Regions from separate parts of the Homo sapiens genome. Here regions 1 and 3 are each linked to region 2. Evidence: promoter capture Hi-C in 16 types of primary human blood cells and fetal thymus (Javierre and others, 2016). All regions are on one chromosome and are shown on one strand. The core of a region is centred on a gene start or on the middle of the fragment in contact, and the rest is flanking DNA. Distances in the headings are between cores, read along the strand shown.

Region 1 (2,700 bases), core at 188-2,687, 1.7 Mb after region 2:
TCCTGAAACACCAAAGTACCCATGCCAAAGAGAAATCGTATGAATGTGAAGAATGTGGGAAAGAGTTTAGGCATATCTCATCCCTTATTGCACATCAGAGAATGCACACTGGAGAAAAACCATATGAATGCCACCAGTGTGGTAAAGCCTTCAGCCAGCGTGCACACCTTACTATACATCAGAGAATTCATACTGGAGAGAAACCCTATAAGTGTGATGACTGTGGGAAAGACTTCAGTCAGCGTGCACACCTTACCATCCATCAAAGGACACATACTGGAGAGAAACCATATAAATGCTTGGAATGTGGTAAAACCTTCAGTCATAGTTCATCACTGATTAATCATCAGAGAGTTCATACTGGAGAAAAACCTTATATATGCAATGAATGTGGGAAGACTTTCAGTCAGAGTACACACCTTCTTCAGCATCAAAAAATACATACTGGGAAGAAACCATATAAATGCAATGAATGTTGGAAAGTGTTTAGTCAGAGTACTTACCTTATTCGACATCAGAGAATTCATTCTGGAGAGAAGTGTTATAAATGTAATGAATGTGGAAAAGCCTTTGCTCATTCCTCAACCCTTATTCAACATCAAACCACTCACACTGGAGAGAAATCCTATATATGTAATATATGTGGGAAAGCCTTCAGCCAGAGTGCAAATCTTACTCAACATCATAGAACACATACTGGAGAGAAACCATATAAATGCAGTGTGTGTGGGAAAGCATTCAGCCAGAGTGTGCACCTTACTCAACATCAGAGGATTCATAATGGAGAAAAACCCTTTAAATGCAATATATGTGGGAAAGCATATAGACAAGGCGCAAATCTTACTCAGCATCAAAGGATTCATACTGGAGAAAAACCCTATAAATGTAATGAATGTGGGAAAGCTTTCATTTATTCCTCATCACTTAATCAACATCAGAGAACTCATACTGGAGAGAGACCCTATAAATGTAATGAATGTGATAAGGATTTTAGCCAGAGAACATGCCTTATTCAACACCAGAGAATTCACACAGGAGAGAAACCCTATGCATGTCGTATATGTGGTAAAACCTTCACCCAGAGTACAAACCTTATTCAGCATCAACGTGTTCATACAGGTGCCAAACATCGTAATTAATGGATAAGGGAAACTTCAATTCGGTTTTACAACTTTGTTTCAATTTTGTTTTGTGCATTCTATGTGTCAGAACATTCAGAAGAAGTCTGAAGAAGTGCAATATGTTAGATACTCAGCAGAAGTATCAGAAGTAGTGGTATGGATATAACCTATTTAGATTTAATGTGAAATTTAAGAAGGAAACTTGACTTCTTAACCTTAATTTGATATGATTTTAATTCATTACAGAAAGAAACCCTGTGAAGGGTATTCAAAAACATAACTCATCAACTCTCTATTTCAAGTACACTTATCCTTTGGTATACTCGGGGGATTGGTTCCAGGACCACCCATGTATACGAAAATCTACCCATACTCAAGTTGCACGGTCAGCCTGGTGGAACCTGTGTATATGAAAAGCCCTACATCTATGCAGGTTTCCCATCCCTGAATAATGTGCTTTCAAACTCTGTTCAGTTGAAAAAAAAAATTCCAGTATAAATGGATCTGTACAGTTCAAATGTGTTGTTCAAGGGTCAACTGTACATCCTAATGAGGCCTTATGAGTGTAACTTAGGAAGGTGTCCATCAAATAGAGATTTCACACTAGAGAGTGATCTTAAAATTACAGAAAAGAGTAAGCTGCTTTCAGGCCTTTTATTCCCAGCTTTGAAGCCTTAAAATATGTAAAGGACTCCCTTCCCTGTTTTACTTCCCCTTCTCCTGTTATGCCATAACTGCCATATGGAGCCAGTAGGTTTGAAAAAAAAACAGTTGGAAGTATCTTAAAGATTTCTATGTGACCACTGGTTACACCTTCCCTCAGATATGGAAATATTAAAGAGAAGCTTAATGAAAGATATGTTATGATAGAAACTAATGTGTATATAACATTAGATGTGTAGAGATTTAGTTAAACAGGCAAAAATTAAATGCCTCAAGCTTAAATGAATTTTCAATACACATTAGCCTTGATTTCACTAGGTTTTGACATTCAAGGTCATCCTGAAGGAAAAAAGTAGGTATAAAGTATACAGTTCCCATTTTTTTCACCTGACTCCTAAATTTATACTTTAGGTTTCTCTGTGACTGTTTTACTATGGAAAGTTCATTTCTTCCACTGAAACACGTTTCTTGAGTGTCTACTATGCTCAGGTCCCAAACTTCCTAATTGGATCCTCTCAAGCTTGTTACAGTGCTGAAAATCACAGGTGGTTTACACAACAGAAAGATTTCTAGAGTGATGAGAAAGTGAGGATGTGATATTTTGTCATGGGTTGAGCATAAGCAACCTGCTAAAATGGGTTGCCAAATGCTACCTATATCCCAAGAGAAGGAAGTGGAAGTGATAGTGTAGCTATATAAATAATGTGAGAAAAAAATGGAAAATAGATCTGAATTCACTGCAGAATGTGGGTCGGGGAAAAGGTGAAATTTTAGTGGAGTGAGGAAAACATACATAGATAATTGCTATAACATGAAATGTAATTGGACTTGCTTTGCCTATGAAATGAGAGTGGCTAAATAAAAAAGAATTCAGCCTGGTTATTAGAAGAAACTAAAAACAAAATGACCGATTTTT
Region 2 (2,700 bases), core at 201-2,700:
CGCCTGGCACAACACTGGCCCAGGACCACAGCAGCCCCTTGGAAAAATCCCTGCCCCTCAAGGCTAAAATCCAACCCCACTGACACAAGAACTCAAGAAAGATATTGGTGCAGCTCACTCTGACTCCGGGCAAGCCGTCACCCCTCTCAGAACCTCAATTTTCTCACCTGTATTTTGAAGATAACTCTAATTTCGAAGAGCACTGAGAGGCTCTGCCATCAGTGGGCTCTGGGGTAAGAATGAGGACAAAACCAACGTCCCCAGAGCAGTGAGCCAGGAGTGGGCTGAGGCCCTGCTCTAACATCAGTGCAGAGGGAGGCGGGGGCTGAGGCGGCCCCTTTCCCTGGCCCCTAGTGTCCCACTCCGGGAAAGGAAGGAAAAGCCTCCACCTCACTCCACCTTGGTGCAGAAAGGCAGGACAGCTGGCCCATGTGGCAGAGGGAGCCAGGGCCCACAGTATGGAGAAAAGTAGCCTCATTTCACAGCTAGGGAAACTGAGGCCCCACGATGCGAAGTGCAGTGTAGTACACAGCCAGGCATGTCCCCTGGACTCGGAGCCCCGGGCAGGGCAGAGCAGGGCAAGGCAGAGCCTGGAGCAGTGGGGGAAGGAAGGAGAGGCTCCTTGAAGGGATTTCCCAGCCGCACCCCCCACAGCTGCCTCGCCCCCACTAACTCTCTCACCCTCCTGGGTGCCAAAGCACAAAACAAACCGGGCCCCAGGGCTGTCCCAAGGGCCGAGCAGGGACGCAATGGAGCCCCTAAGAAAAAGGATAAAGAGACAGAAGTGAGCGACAGAGGTCGAGAGACTCCACAGAGACAGAGAGAGAGACACGCAGGGAGAGACAGGCAAAGAAGACTCAGAGACGCACAGGCAGCAAGAGAAATGAGAGGCAGAGAGATAAAGGGAGACAGGCAGAGATAGGAAGGGGCAGAGGCAGAGACACCCCCACCACACACACAGGCACAACTGGGGCGAGACAGCCGGTCAGCGGCGGAGAAAGAGGGACAGAGACCCAGAGACAGGCAAAGAGTCTCAGAGACAGACCCCCACACACACAGACTGGCAGAGCCAGGGCCAGAGCGGCCCGCAGAGACTCGGGGAGCAGACACGGAAAGTCGGCCGGAGACCCAGACCCACCCAGAGTCCGAGCCAGAGCGGGGCCCGCCGAGGGGGTGCGCGGCCCGGCCCGGCCCCGCCCCGCGCCGCGCTGCATGCCAGCCCCCGCCCCCCGGGCCCGACGTGGCTCCGACCCCGGGCCCCCAGCCCAGGCCCCCGTCCCGCCCCCTCCCGCCCGAGCCCGGGCCCGGGCCGCCGCCGCACCTTGTTGAAGGCGAAAAGCTCCTGCTTGAGCTTCTCGCGCTGCGGGTCGGCGCCCTGCCGCCGGAACCGAAACTTCATCATCTTGCGCCCGGCTGCAGGCGCCTCGCCCGCCGCCGCCGCCCGCAGGATGCGCCGCGCGGCCCCGCGGGTCCTAAGGCGCGGGCGGGGCGCCAGGCGGCCCGGGCGCGGGCGCGCGGGGCCGGGCCTGCACGGGGGTGGGCGCCGGGCGCGACGGACGCGCCGCCCGACCAGTGAGCGAGCCCGCCGTGCCGCCCGCCCCGCCCCTGTTGGCCAGACAATGGTGAACTGGGCCCCCGGGCTCGGCCGGGCTCGCGAAGGGACGCCCGCCTAGCATGCGCCGCGGCGCGGGGCCTGCCGGGACTTGTAGTCCATGAGCCGGGGCTCCAGCGCGGGCGGCTGGGGAAGCGCTTTGGAGGGGGATTGGCGCACGTTCCCGGGCTTGGAGGAGACTTTTTCCTCCTCCCAGAGAGCGAGCGACGTGCCCACTCATGTAATGGGGCAGCCCTGTTCCGAAAGCCAAGACAGCTCTGACTGGAACAACTCCCTGGCCCCTCTGCGCCTCAGTTTCCCCATCTACACCATTGGTCAAGTGATTGCCAAGTTTATATTTTACCAATTTCACAGAACTCCATTTCGTCTGTTCCCCGCTCTGTCAGAGCACCTCCCACCGCCGTGCTTTTGCCTTGGCTTTGTAGTCAGGAATTCTTTCCTCACCCCCAGCCCCTGGGGAACTCCTACACATCTTTCAGGACCCAACGCAAAAGGCTCTGTGTCACAGCACAGGGGATTCTTTCTTAGCCAAAGAAAGAGACGGGATCCCCAGGAGGTGGCATTTGGGACTGTTCTGGGGTTGGATTGGAGCTTTACGGAGATGGGGGAAGGACCTCCCCCCGCAGAGAACAGCGTCTGAACAAAGCTTAGCCCTGCCCCTACTCTCAGGGGCCGTCTGCCTGTCCCCACCCACCTCCCAGGCCTTTTCTCATCTGGACAATGGCCTCGAGGCTGAACCTTTCCTTCCAGGCTGAGGATAGGCCGCCTGGCTCAGGGCTGGGGCTGCGGGAGGTCCTAGAAGCTTAGGTGGGGCAGGTAGGACAGGCCCCAACCCCACCAGCTGTGTCCAGGGAGCAGGAGCTGACCTCTGAGCCCGAGGCGGCTGCCAAGCCTTGGGGCCTGGCTGTCCCCCTCCACCCACGCCAGGCCGGCGGTGTTCAGCCCTTCCCCGTATTTGGGGCTGGATCCGGAAGAGGGCCCAGGAGTGAGTGAGGAGGTGAGAGGAGGGAGAATGACGACAGTAAAGCCCCTAAGTGTCTACTGCGGGGCAGGCGCTGTTCAAAGCCCTTTCCTGGTTTCAGCTGACT
Region 3 (2,700 bases), core at 186-2,685, 1.7 Mb after region 2:
CTTGAGTAGCTGGGATTACAGGCGTGCGCCACCACACCAGGCTAATTTTTGTTCTTTTAGTAGAGACGGAGTTTCACCATGTTGGCCAGGCTGGTCTCAAACTCCTGACCTCAGGTGATCTACCTGCCTGGGCCTCCCAAAGTGCTGGAATTACAGGCGTGAGCCACCGCGCCCGGTCCAACTTTCTTTTTGTTAAAATTTTCCTGGTGTGGTGATATTAAGAGTCTTTGACAGTCCTCCTCCACCCTCACAGGATTCTGCCTCCATTTGATTCTCTGTAGGCTTGTGATTGCTTTGACCAAGAGTCTGACAGAATTGGTGTTAGGTGACTTCCAAGGCCATGTTATAATTGGCCATGGCGCTTCTCTCTTGTTCACTGGAATGCTCACTCTTGGAGCCCAGAGCCACCATGTAACAAGTCCAGCTGCCCTCAGTCCTTTATGCTGGAGAGACCACATTGAGGCACTCTGGTCAAACACAAGCCGAGTTCATCTTTTAGCCCATCTCCTCCCAAGCAGTAGACATGTGAGTGGAAAAGCCATCTTGGAAGCGGGCCCTCCCAGCCATCAAATCATCCCAACAGAGGCTACAGACATAATGAGGCAAAGGCCCACCCACTCAGTTCCCCTTTCAAATTCCTCACCATGAAATTTATGAGCATAATACGGTGATTGTCCTTCAAAACCACTAAGTTTTGGGGTGGTTTGTTAATAGAACAGTAGATAACGGGAACACCTTGAATATGTTTTTCTATGCTTTTATTTTTCCAGTGTTTTATGTATTTTTGTTTTGTGTCTCTTAGAAATAACAGCTACTCGGGAGGCTGAACCCAGGAAGTTCAAGTGAGAATCACTTGAACACAGGAGAATCACTTGAACCCAGGAGGCGGAGGTTGCAGTGAGCCGAGCTCGCACCATTGCACTCCAGCCTGGGCGACAGAGCGAGACTCCGTCTCAAAAGAAAAAAAAGAAAGAAAGAAAGAACATGGGTTTTTTTCCCCCAATCTGAGAGTCTCAGAATCAAATTCCTGAGGAGGAAGTGAAAACCTTTCACAGTTAGTATGTATGCACAGTAAAGCCCGAAACCGCACATTAAGTCTTTCTGCCTTTAGACCCACATCTTCCCTGCCCATTCTTCCTCTAGGAAATCTGGCGCCCAGTTTTCTCTGCGTAGTTGGCGCGGGGCTTCAACTCCCGGCGCTCCTCCAGCTACTGGCACCTCCCTGGCCTCCAAGACGTCTACCAGACCTGCGTCTGCCCGGGGAAACTTTGAAGTTCCCTTCGGAACCTCGCAGGCTGACAAGCAAGTCAGAGCGATGGGTGGAGGAGGTTGCCATGGAGACAGGTCCAGGGCCAGAGGCGCGGGAGGGGGAGGCGGCAGCTTGGGCTCCGATTGGCTCTGCGGGCGCGCAGCGTTCCTCTGGCGCACATGCGCAGTGACGCCGAGGCGAGGTCGCGGCTAAGCAGAGGCGCCGGGGTTTCTGGGCCGGGCTTCTCAGGACCGGGCTGGAACGTGCAGCTCCTGGCCGGGACACTCTGTGCTTTGCGGGGAAGGGAAGTGGCGGAGCCCGAGGATCCGCTGCCGCTCGGGACTGAGCCCGCCACGCAGGCGCCTGTGCCAGCGTCGCCATTGTTGCCTGTGGCCTTAGGGCCGCTCCGGCTGCCCGTCGGCCGGGTCCCAGCGACAGGTATTGATGTCCGGGCGCAGCGCGCGAGTGTCCGCGCGATCAGTGACAGCCCGAGCCCGTCCACGCGCGGGCTCCCGTGCTCGTGGCTTGCGGGAGGGCAAAGACGGGGTGGAGGCTGCTGTGGGCCCAGTCCCAGCGTTGCGCGTCGCACGGTCCCCGACTCCCCCGCTGCCCTCGACCTCGACCCTGCGGCTGAAGAGGAGTAAGAGGCAGAGGGACTTGGCCGGGAAGGGGAGGCGACAGGAGGCAAGGCAAGGCTGTCGCATCACCTCCGCAGGGCCTTGTAAACAGTTGTCTTTGGTGGCACGACTGTGCCTCAGCAGGGCTCGGAGCTGGAGCCTGGGGAGAGGTGGTGTCGGTTCTCCTCCAGATCAGGCCGGTTCTAAGGTTTCCTTCGAGAATCCTGGTTTCGAATATATCCCTAAAGAACTGTCTCCTATAGAAGCACTTAAAGGACTTGAAGTCACACCAACCTCTTCACTCTTTTCCAGTCCAACCCGCTGGTCTTCCCAACCCTCTGATAGTGAAAGGCTAGAATCGGCTGGCATTAACATGCAACGCAGATAAATGGCTCGCCCTTTCCCCTGACAGTTCCCTTGGGAACCTTGAGCACTGTATTAAGAAGAAATTCTCCTAGTTTCTTCCAAGTAACAGATTCACTTTGTTATTGTTGAGAGTCCGTTCAGTCATTACAGCTTCTGTAACATCAGTGACTAAAATAATGAAACTATTTTCTCTATAAAAATGTTTAATTTTTGTTACAACAGGTTAGAGGTTTAATCTGTTGTTTGGCTTAGATTCGAGTCATTGCCTCTGACACTACCTTTTTAATAGCAGCTCCATCCCCCACCAACCCCAAGCAGATGGCAGTTCCCTTACAAGTCTAAGGATATAGGGGAGGAAGACAAGGTAAAGCTTATGTGTGTTCATCTATGCACACTGCGAGTCTGTTTCTGTGTGTGTATATGTATAGTAGAGTACACCAGGGATTCTTGACCTTGTGGTCCATGCTT

Evidence for each region. The method cuts DNA at HindIII sites, captures the fragments that hold promoters and counts their contacts. A CHiCAGO score of 5 or more calls a contact.
Region 1: a fragment that was not itself captured here is called in contact with the fragment with the promoter of LLGL1 in region 2 in 1 of 17 cell types (endothelial precursors); the score reaches 6.0 in endothelial precursors.
Region 3: a contact is called between the fragment with the promoter of ZNF287 here and the fragment with the promoter of LLGL1 in region 2, in 1 of 17 cell types (activated CD4 T cells). The highest score is 7.5, in activated CD4 T cells.

Annotation. Positions count from the first base shown.
Region 1 is chr17:16,550,295-16,552,994 of GRCh38, reverse strand. ZNF287 (zinc finger protein 287) reads left to right here. Exons shown (of 6, transcript NM_020653.4): 6 at 1-2,700. The coding sequence ends at 1,139. Among named protein-coding and RNA genes, the nearest start is that of ZNF287, 18 kb to the left of the region's middle. The HindIII fragment of the contact is 1,063 bases long and covers 906-1,968 here.
Region 2 is chr17:18,224,385-18,227,084 of GRCh38, reverse strand. It overlaps LLGL1 (LLGL scribble cell polarity complex component 1), which reads right to left and starts at 1,450. Exons shown (of 23, transcript NM_004140.4): 1 at 1,322-1,450. The coding sequence starts at 1,402. RefSeq lists silencers at 989-1,158, 1,309-1,788. The HindIII fragment of the contact is 4,006 bases long and covers 1-2,260 here.
Region 3 is chr17:16,567,939-16,570,638 of GRCh38, reverse strand. ZNF287 (zinc finger protein 287) reads left to right here and starts at 1,435. Exons shown (of 6, transcript NM_020653.4): 1 at 1,435-1,687. RefSeq lists enhancers at 1,371-1,870, 1,871-2,372. The HindIII fragment of the contact is 2,931 bases long and covers 1-2,604 here.